Linked DNA regions of Homo sapiens: regions 2 and 3 are each linked to region 1. The links are contacts of gene promoters, found by promoter capture Hi-C in blood cells and fetal thymus (Javierre and others, 2016). All regions are on one chromosome and are shown on one strand. The core of a region is centred on a gene start or on the middle of the fragment in contact, and the rest is flanking DNA. Distances in the headings are between cores, read along the strand shown. Region 1 holds the start of GTF2A1 (general transcription factor IIA subunit 1). Region 2 overlaps NRXN3 (neurexin 3). Region 3 overlaps NRXN3 (neurexin 3).

Region 1 (2,542 bases), core at 20-2,519:
AGTCTTGGCAAGATGCATTTTTTTTCCTCTTTGGTAAGACGCCTTTGATATTCTTCAAATCTGGTTTCACCAGCACAGAACTTTGACGTTTCGTTTTGCTTTGTCTCTGGAAGACAAACTCCCTCACTCATCCACGCGACATTTCAAGTCCCTCAAAATTCCCAGGGACAAGAAAACTAGGTACTATGAATTCTGCCTTCCAAACAGCATTCTCTGTTCTGCTTGCAAGGTCGATATAAAGGCAGGATTTGCTTGGGCAGAACAAGTCAAAAGCTTATTGAATTGCACTTATTGAATTGAACATGGAACACAGCCGGCTTGCTCTCTTATAGCGAGAGGCCATGCGAGTTGGTGGGTCAAGGGCATGCATTTCAAAGTGATCAGTCACTATACGTTGGCCACATGGAGTCGCAGTATTTTGGCAATATTTTTAAAAACCAGGGAAAGTTACTGTGCTGTTACAATCCAAAGGCTGGTGGGGTTTTCTTCCACCCCGCATTTCCACTAGCGTGATAAATTATTTAAAGTACGTGGCCTAGTAGAGGACTAACCTCTGGGTAACATAAGCCTAGTCTTCGCAGCGTACCCACTGTGGAAACAAACGAATCAGACGTTACTAATTGTGGAATGTTAAAAGTAGGCCCCGATCGGCTTTTACTCCCTTTGGAAAATCCTACACAATTCTGCGCGCGAAAGACCCACCCTCGGTGAGGCGGTGAGGCGCGAACGCCGCGAAGCTCACAGTCAAAGCCTCGCTGACAAATCAAGAGATGACTCCGCATTTAAAACCTTCCCGAATAGGAACGCGCCAGAGGCCGGAAGCCACGCCACGTGACCAGTCCTCCTCCGCGGCCATTCCTAGCGAGGCAGTAGGCACCGCCTCTGTCACATTTCCTAGCTCCTAAAGCGCGGGACCAGGCGGAAACGTGCGACAGGAGGCGGTCCCACCTAGCTTTGGACTGGAGTGTCAGTAGAACTCCCGTCTTTTCCAGCAACGCTTTGCAAGTTCTTCACCGCAAAGAACTGCCGCAGACTTCCGCCTGGGTGCCAACCACGTGATCACGCGAGCGTTGGAGAGGCGTAGGTCCGATTTCACTACTTCACTCCCCGGGCTCCGCCAGTCCAGTACCCGCCACGGCGCGTGACAACGCGGCTCGCCGGCGGCCTCCGCCCCGGCGCGCCTGCGCACGCGGCTCTCGCGGTGTCTCGCGCTCAGCCCCGCCCACCTCTGCCCCCGCCCTTTCCGCCCCTCCCTCCCCCTTCACCCTGTCTCTCGGCGGCGGCGGCGGCGGCGGTGGTGGCTCGCGCAGCTTGTTGGCTCGCTATATAAAGGAGAGAAGCGGGCGGACCGGACGGCTGGAGCTGCAGCCGGTGGCGGCAGCGGCGGCGCAGGGAGCGGTGACCGGTGGTGGTTTCCCTCCTTGGCGCGGGGTGGGGAGCGGGCAACGCCCCCCGGACCCCTGAAGGGTCGTGGCTTTTTTTTTTTTTTTAAGGCGATTCTCGAGGTTTTCAGCTGCGGGAGGAGTGCCCCCCTCCTCCTCCTCTCTCCGCTCTCCCCTACTCCTTCAGGATTGATTTTGTTTAAAATTTTTTCCCCAATCTTGCGGTGATTTGGGTCACCCTCCGGGTGTTATAGTTTTTTTTTTTTTGGTTTTGTTTTTATCTTGTTTTCTTGGGGTTGCCCCCTCTTGTTTGTGTTGTGTGTGGAAATGGCGAACTCGGCAAATACAAACACCGTGGTAAGGACGTGGTTCGGTGGCCGGCGGGGGCTTCGTTCAGGCTGCAGCAACGGCCGGACCGGGCGGGGGCGGGGACGGCGGCGACTCCCGGCCTCGACTCTTCAGCCGCCCGCGCGGCCGCCGCCGCCGCCGCTTCCCGCCTCGGGCGGATCGGGCCGGAGCGCCGGGCGGCGGGCGCGGGGGGGCGCCGAGGGCTCGCGGCGCGGGGAGGGCGGGGGCGCCGGTGGGGCCTGGGGCCGCCGCGGGCCGGGCCGGGCCGCGGAGGCGGTTGGGCCCGGTCGGGCGCGCAGCCCCGGCCCCAGAACCCGGCCGCCGGGAGGGAGGGCGGGAGGGGAGCCGCCGCTTCCCCCCGAGGGGCCCGTCCGCGCTGGCTTGACGAGGGCTCCCCGAGTGGCTACAGAACAAAAACTGTGTGTGGGGAATCGGGCGAACCCCCGAGACCCATCGTGATCCACTTTAATGCAGTGGAAGATTAATGGTTACTTTGGGGGTTTCTTAGGTTGTTTTTGGCGGCTGTGCTTTGGGAACCTTCTCTGAGGCCATTTTATGTTTAAAAAAAGGACGAAGGTTGGTTGAAAAGCACTTATCTCAGTTCCTTCCGAATGGGTAAAATGGCGAAGGGGAAGACCCCCATCGTATCTTCGCCTAGCAGAAGCACCAAAACAAACAAAAAAAGCCTGCAGTGGTCCAAGTGTCCCCGCTTTCGCCTTGAAATTTACCTACTTCTTCCCGTTGGTCCCTTTTTGTTACTTGCGATCACGTAGGTTTGCAAAAAGCAGTCACATAAATAACCTTTTCAGTCA
Region 2 (2,542 bases), core at 28-2,527, 2.3 Mb after region 1:
GTAGAGACGAGGTTTCTCCATGTTTGTCAGGCTTGTCTTGAACTCTCCACCTCAGGTGATCTGCCTGCCTTGGCCTCCCAAAGTGCTGGGATTACAGGCGTGAGCTACCATGCCTGGCCTTTTTTTTTTTTTTTCATTTTTTTATTTTTTTATTTTTTTTATTTTTGCAAAATCACATATCTAGAAAATATTCAGGTTGTTTAAGATAACTATCACTTTTACATTACTCCTAGATTGACTTTGTAATGTACATTAGGAGAATATCTCCTATGAAGAGCATCCCACCAAGTCAGGTGGAGGCCCTCAAATCTGTGTTTTCACACTTAGGTTTCTGGATTTCTGAAGAGCGGATGAGCCTTCCTCATATACCTCCATGTTCAACTCCTCATTCCCCCAGTTTTGTCTATCACCTGTGCACAAAGGACAGTCATTCCTGGGTGCTCCAGGTCAGGATCCTACCACTCCACTCCAGATCTTGGCACCAACACTCTTCTACACCTTCTTTCATCAGCAGCTCAAGACTGTTACACACAGACTCTGTTTAAATGGCTATAGATGCCTGACACCTAAATAATGACTTCTCACAAGAATTCTTAATATAGTCCTTTATATAAGGCTATATATAGTCCTCTGTATAAGGCTTCTTTCCTTTTTTTAACTTTAATTTTCGGTTTAAGGGTACATGTGCAGGTCTGTTGTATAGGTGAACTCCTATCATAGGATTTGTTGCACAGATCAGTTAATCACCAAGGTAATAACCCTAGTATCCAATAGTTATTTTTTCTGCTCCTCTTTCTCCTTCTACCATCCCTCCTGAAGTAAGCCCCAGTGTTTTTTGTTCCCTTCTAAAAAGCTTCTTTCTGTTTTATATCATGACCTTCATACTATACCTGGAAACAGTATACCTTTTTATCCCTCTTTTCTTAGAAATTGGGTTTAAGTGCTTCTTATCCAGTTAATCGAATATTCTTACGGTCTCTTCCAGGCTTAATGAGGTGTTGTGGGCTGAATTCTGTCCCTCCAAACACTCGTATGTTGAAATCTAAACCCCAATACCACAGAGGCTTACCATATTTGAAGATAGGGTCTTTAAGAAGTAATTCAATTAAAATTATGGCATGAGGGCGGACCCTAGTCCAATATGACTGGCGTCCTTATAAGAAGAGGAAACTTGGACACAGACATGTTCAGCAGGAAGACAATGTAAAGAAACAGGGAGAAGACAGCCATCTAAAAGCCAAGAAGAAAGTTCTGGAACAGATCCTTCTCTCACAGCCCTCAAAAGGCACCAACTCAGCCAGGACCTTGATTTGGGAGGTCCACCCTGCAGAACTGCGAGGAAATAAATTTCTATTGTTTAAGTCACCCAGTCCAGGGTACTTTGTGAAGGCAGCCCTTGTAAACTAGTACGTGAGGTATGCTCTATCACCTGCTGTGCTTCCACCAATTAGAATAAAACTCAAATTCCCCACCACATGTACATGGCTGAACATGAACTAGCCTCTCCTTATGTCTCGGACCTCATCTCCCAAGCCCCCCTGGTTTTGTATTCTCCATCCAAACAGGTCTTCTCTAACAGAAGGACTCCCACAAAGGGCTTTTGGGATTCCCTCTCCCTGGAGCACTCCTGCCATGGAGCTTCCCATAGCTGGCTGTTTGTATTCAGGACTCAGCCCAAAGTCCTCACCTCGGACAAGCTTCTGTGACCTACCATCTAAAAGTAGTTATCCCTTCTACCAAAACTCTGCATTAACTGTCTTGGTTTATTTCTTTGGAACATTTTTCTAGCAGAGAAACTCATCACTAGCTTTAGCACCCAGTTTGCACCATAAATTAGTACAATTATAACCCCTTTATGCAGGAAAACAGGTATCATTAGGTTGACCATATGTTTGGGTTTCCCCAGACTGCTTTAATTTATACCCATTCCAGTGTAATTATTAATAGTGCCCCTTTTTGTGATAAAAACAGTCCCAGTTTCGACAGTAAGTAATGTAAAATATATTCTCAAGGCTATCACAATTTTTGAGCTATTTTCTGTACTAGATGATACACCTGGACAAGACACTCAAGACTCCCAAGATGAGAATTTCTCCCAAGACACAAGAGTGTCTTATCTTGGAATTCTTGAGTATCTTCTTATAGGGACATTCTCTTCTTACAAAGACACCAGTCGTATTGAATTACAGTCTGCACTAATGCCATAATTTTAATTGAATTACTCCTTAAAGACTCTATTTTCAAGACACTCTCTTGAGTGTCTTGTCTTGGGAGTCTTGAGTATCTTGTCAAGGTGTATCATCTAAGTTCTGTGAATCACTGCTTTCATATACTGAAAAGGCCACATAATTTTACCCCTCTGTATCTTGGCACATGGAATTTCTTCCCTGAGACCCACCTTTCTTTTCTCCAACCCCAGATGCTGGCCCTCCCCATCATCCATCAAGAAGCTGCACAGAGGGTAACTCTGATCTGAATCTTTCAGTGAGAATTAAGCAATCCTGTCTGCCTATCACATTACAGTGCTATTTATTTCTATATA
Region 3 (2,542 bases), core at 18-2,517, 2.2 Mb after region 1:
TAAGATAATTGCTTTATAATGAATCATTTAAGTTCTATTTTTATTTTACAAAGTTAACAAAAGGCTAAATATTTAACCTTGCTGGATTTAATATTCTAAGTTTTATAAAAGTTCGATTATATAAAGTAAAACAAACAATTGCCTCTGAGCAGTTAACTGAAAAGTCCATTCCCTGACCTCCCCTTAGGATTACCATTCAACAGAAGTAAAAGGTTTCCATTACATACCTGAGAAAAATCCTGCTTATAGAAAGAGATCTTGATAGAAACTTAATCCAGATGGGCCATTTTCAAAAGAAAGGCAGAAAGGGGAAGGGAAGTCAATAGAGGAAAAAGGCAGTCACAAATAGAAATGTCATAACAACATATCGCTATTCTCCAAAAGTAGGAGGAGACTATAAAAAATAGCTGGAAAGATACAAACAGAGAGAGGCAGTCCAAAAGACAAGCTGCCACACGAAAAAAGACCCAGAAACACAAATAGTCATTAAAAGGATGATAGCGACTGGGGAGATAAACACCAAAAGGCTAAACCATAAAATGAAATTGAGATCTAGGTAGTAAGATATTGATAATAGCAGAGAAAGACAGTTTCCACACCAAAATGAAATCAGGAAGACAGAGACACAAAAGCAATAAACATGGAAAGAAAAAATAAAAAGTAGGAACCTCTACAATGAAAAGCTAAAAAAAAAAAAAAAAAAAAAAAGACACAGAGAAAGAGACAAAAAGCCATGTACCTGTACAATTTGAGGTATTAGAAATCACTAAGAGTCTTTTGAAAGTAGAAAACTGCAAAGATACTTACAAATAAAAAAGATTGAATTGTAGAAGCTACAGGCATTTGGGAAAAGGCTGCAGCTAAATTACACCTTGCCCTTGAGGGTGGAGAGGAGGGGTTTGTGAGCAGGTGTCAAGGCAGGGTTCTGGGGGTCAGCAGGATGCTCGGCTGCTGAGTGTCCAGTCTTTCCCTGGGAATCTGAATCAATGGTTTAACAACAGTCTATCCTGAAGAAGTGATTCTCAACTGGGAACAATTGTGGCCCTCTCCAAAAGACATTTGGCAATGTTTAGAGATTTTTTTATTGTGACAATTATGTTGGGGGGGCTACTACTGGCATCTACTATGTAGAGGCTAAGAATGCTGCTAAATGTTCTATAATGGGCCAGGCGTGGTGGCTCACACCTGCAATTCTATTCTTTGGGAGGCTGAGGCAGGTGGGTCGCTTGAGCTCAGGAGTTCAAGACCAGCTTGAGCAACATGGTGAAACCCTGTTTCTACAAAAAAAAAAAAAGAAAGAAAGAAAGAAAAAAAAAAAGAAGAAAAAAAATTAGACGGGCACAGTGGTCATGCCTGTAGTCCCAGCTACTTGGGGGGGCTAAGACAGTAGGATCAATTAAGCCTCAGAGGCAGAGGTTGCAGTGAACTGAGATCATGCCAATGCACTCAGGCCTGGGTGAAAAAAATGAGTCCCTGTTTTATAAATAAATAAATAAACAAACAAACAAACAAACCATAATGCACCATACAATTGCCCCAAAGAATTATCCGGTCAAAAATGTCAATTATAGCCCTCTCCAAGGGGCATTTTTGGGCCTCTACAAGGGGTATTTGGCAACATCTGGAGATATTTTTATTGTGACAATTAGTGTTGGGGAGGCTACTACTGGCAGCTACTGTGTAGAGGCTAGGGATGCTGTTAAATATCCTATAATGCATAGTACAATCCCCTCAAAGAATTAACCAGTCAAAAAATGTCATTGGCATGGCTATTGAGAAATACTGTCCTGCATTCTATTATCACAAGGAAGAAATCTTTTCCATCCATCTGTAAACTGGAATTTGCCATTCCTGAAACAGAATAAAGAATTTCCATGTCAAAGTCTTAGAAAGGGTCACCTTCCACCCTCTTGACTTTTGGGTGTCGGGGCAGGAACCGAAAGAGATCTGAGCAATTACCAGTTACAACAGTAATATGTTTGCAAATAATAAGTTTGACAATATGCTTTATTTAATCAGAACCAGTATTATTATTATTGAAAACTAAGCAAATAGATGCTATATGGTTACACTGGCTACAAATTAATTGGAGACTTCTTTTGATACCCTGGGGCAAGTAACCACCACAAACTCAACTCAAACATATCATGCAGAATAACTGATATACCATATTTCCTCTCTCTTTCCTTTCTTCCTTTCCATTCTTTTTTCTTTTATTTCCTCCCTCCCAACCCCCTTCTTTTCATTCTCTCTTTCTTCCTCTCTCTCTTTTTCTTTATTTCTTCCTTCCTTGCTTTCTTCCTTGCCTTCTTTTAAGCATATTTATCACTATTTTTTCCTATGACATTTTCCCCTAGAGATCTCCCAGACTGGCTGAGCATAGCCTCATCCCCATCCCAATGCTTTCTCTCTGTAAAGATTTCTGCACTTGGTCTGGAACAAGAGTTACATTTAGAATGGATCAGGCAGTGAGAAAAGAGCAAAAGAACTATACCCCTTCATGGTACCTTCTGTATGCAGCACGGAGGCTATGGTAACTCGT

The links. The method cuts DNA at HindIII sites, captures the fragments that hold promoters and counts their contacts. A CHiCAGO score of 5 or more calls a contact.
Region 2: a contact is called between a fragment that was not itself captured here and the fragment with the promoter of GTF2A1 in region 1, in 1 of 17 cell types (endothelial precursors). The highest score is 7.0, in endothelial precursors.
Region 3: a fragment that was not itself captured here is called in contact with the fragment with the promoter of GTF2A1 in region 1 in 1 of 17 cell types (M2 macrophages); the score reaches 10.7 in M2 macrophages.

Annotation. Positions count from the first base shown.
Region 1 is chr14:81,219,686-81,222,227 of GRCh38, reverse strand. It overlaps GTF2A1 (general transcription factor IIA subunit 1), which reads left to right and starts at 1,269. Exons shown (of 9, transcript NM_015859.4): 1 at 1,269-1,739. The coding sequence starts at 1,710. It overlaps GTF2A1-AS1 (GTF2A1 antisense RNA 1), which reads right to left and starts at 1,010. Exons shown (of 2, transcript NR_135252.1): 1 at 703-1,010; 2 at 1-589. RefSeq lists silencers at 1,105-1,404, 1,435-1,484, 2,015-2,134 and an enhancer at 2,475-2,542. The HindIII fragment of the contact is 3,079 bases long and covers 276-2,542 here.
Region 2 is chr14:78,915,581-78,918,122 of GRCh38, reverse strand. All of the region lies in intron 10 of NRXN3 (neurexin 3), which reads right to left. Among named protein-coding and RNA genes, the nearest start is that of NRXN3-AS1, 160 kb to the left of the region's middle. The HindIII fragment of the contact is 844 bases long and covers 856-1,699 here.
Region 3 is chr14:79,028,802-79,031,343 of GRCh38, reverse strand. All of the region lies in intron 15 of NRXN3 (neurexin 3), which reads right to left. Among named protein-coding and RNA genes, the nearest start is that of NRXN3-AS1, 45 kb to the left of the region's middle. The HindIII fragment of the contact is 4,313 bases long and covers 1-2,542 here.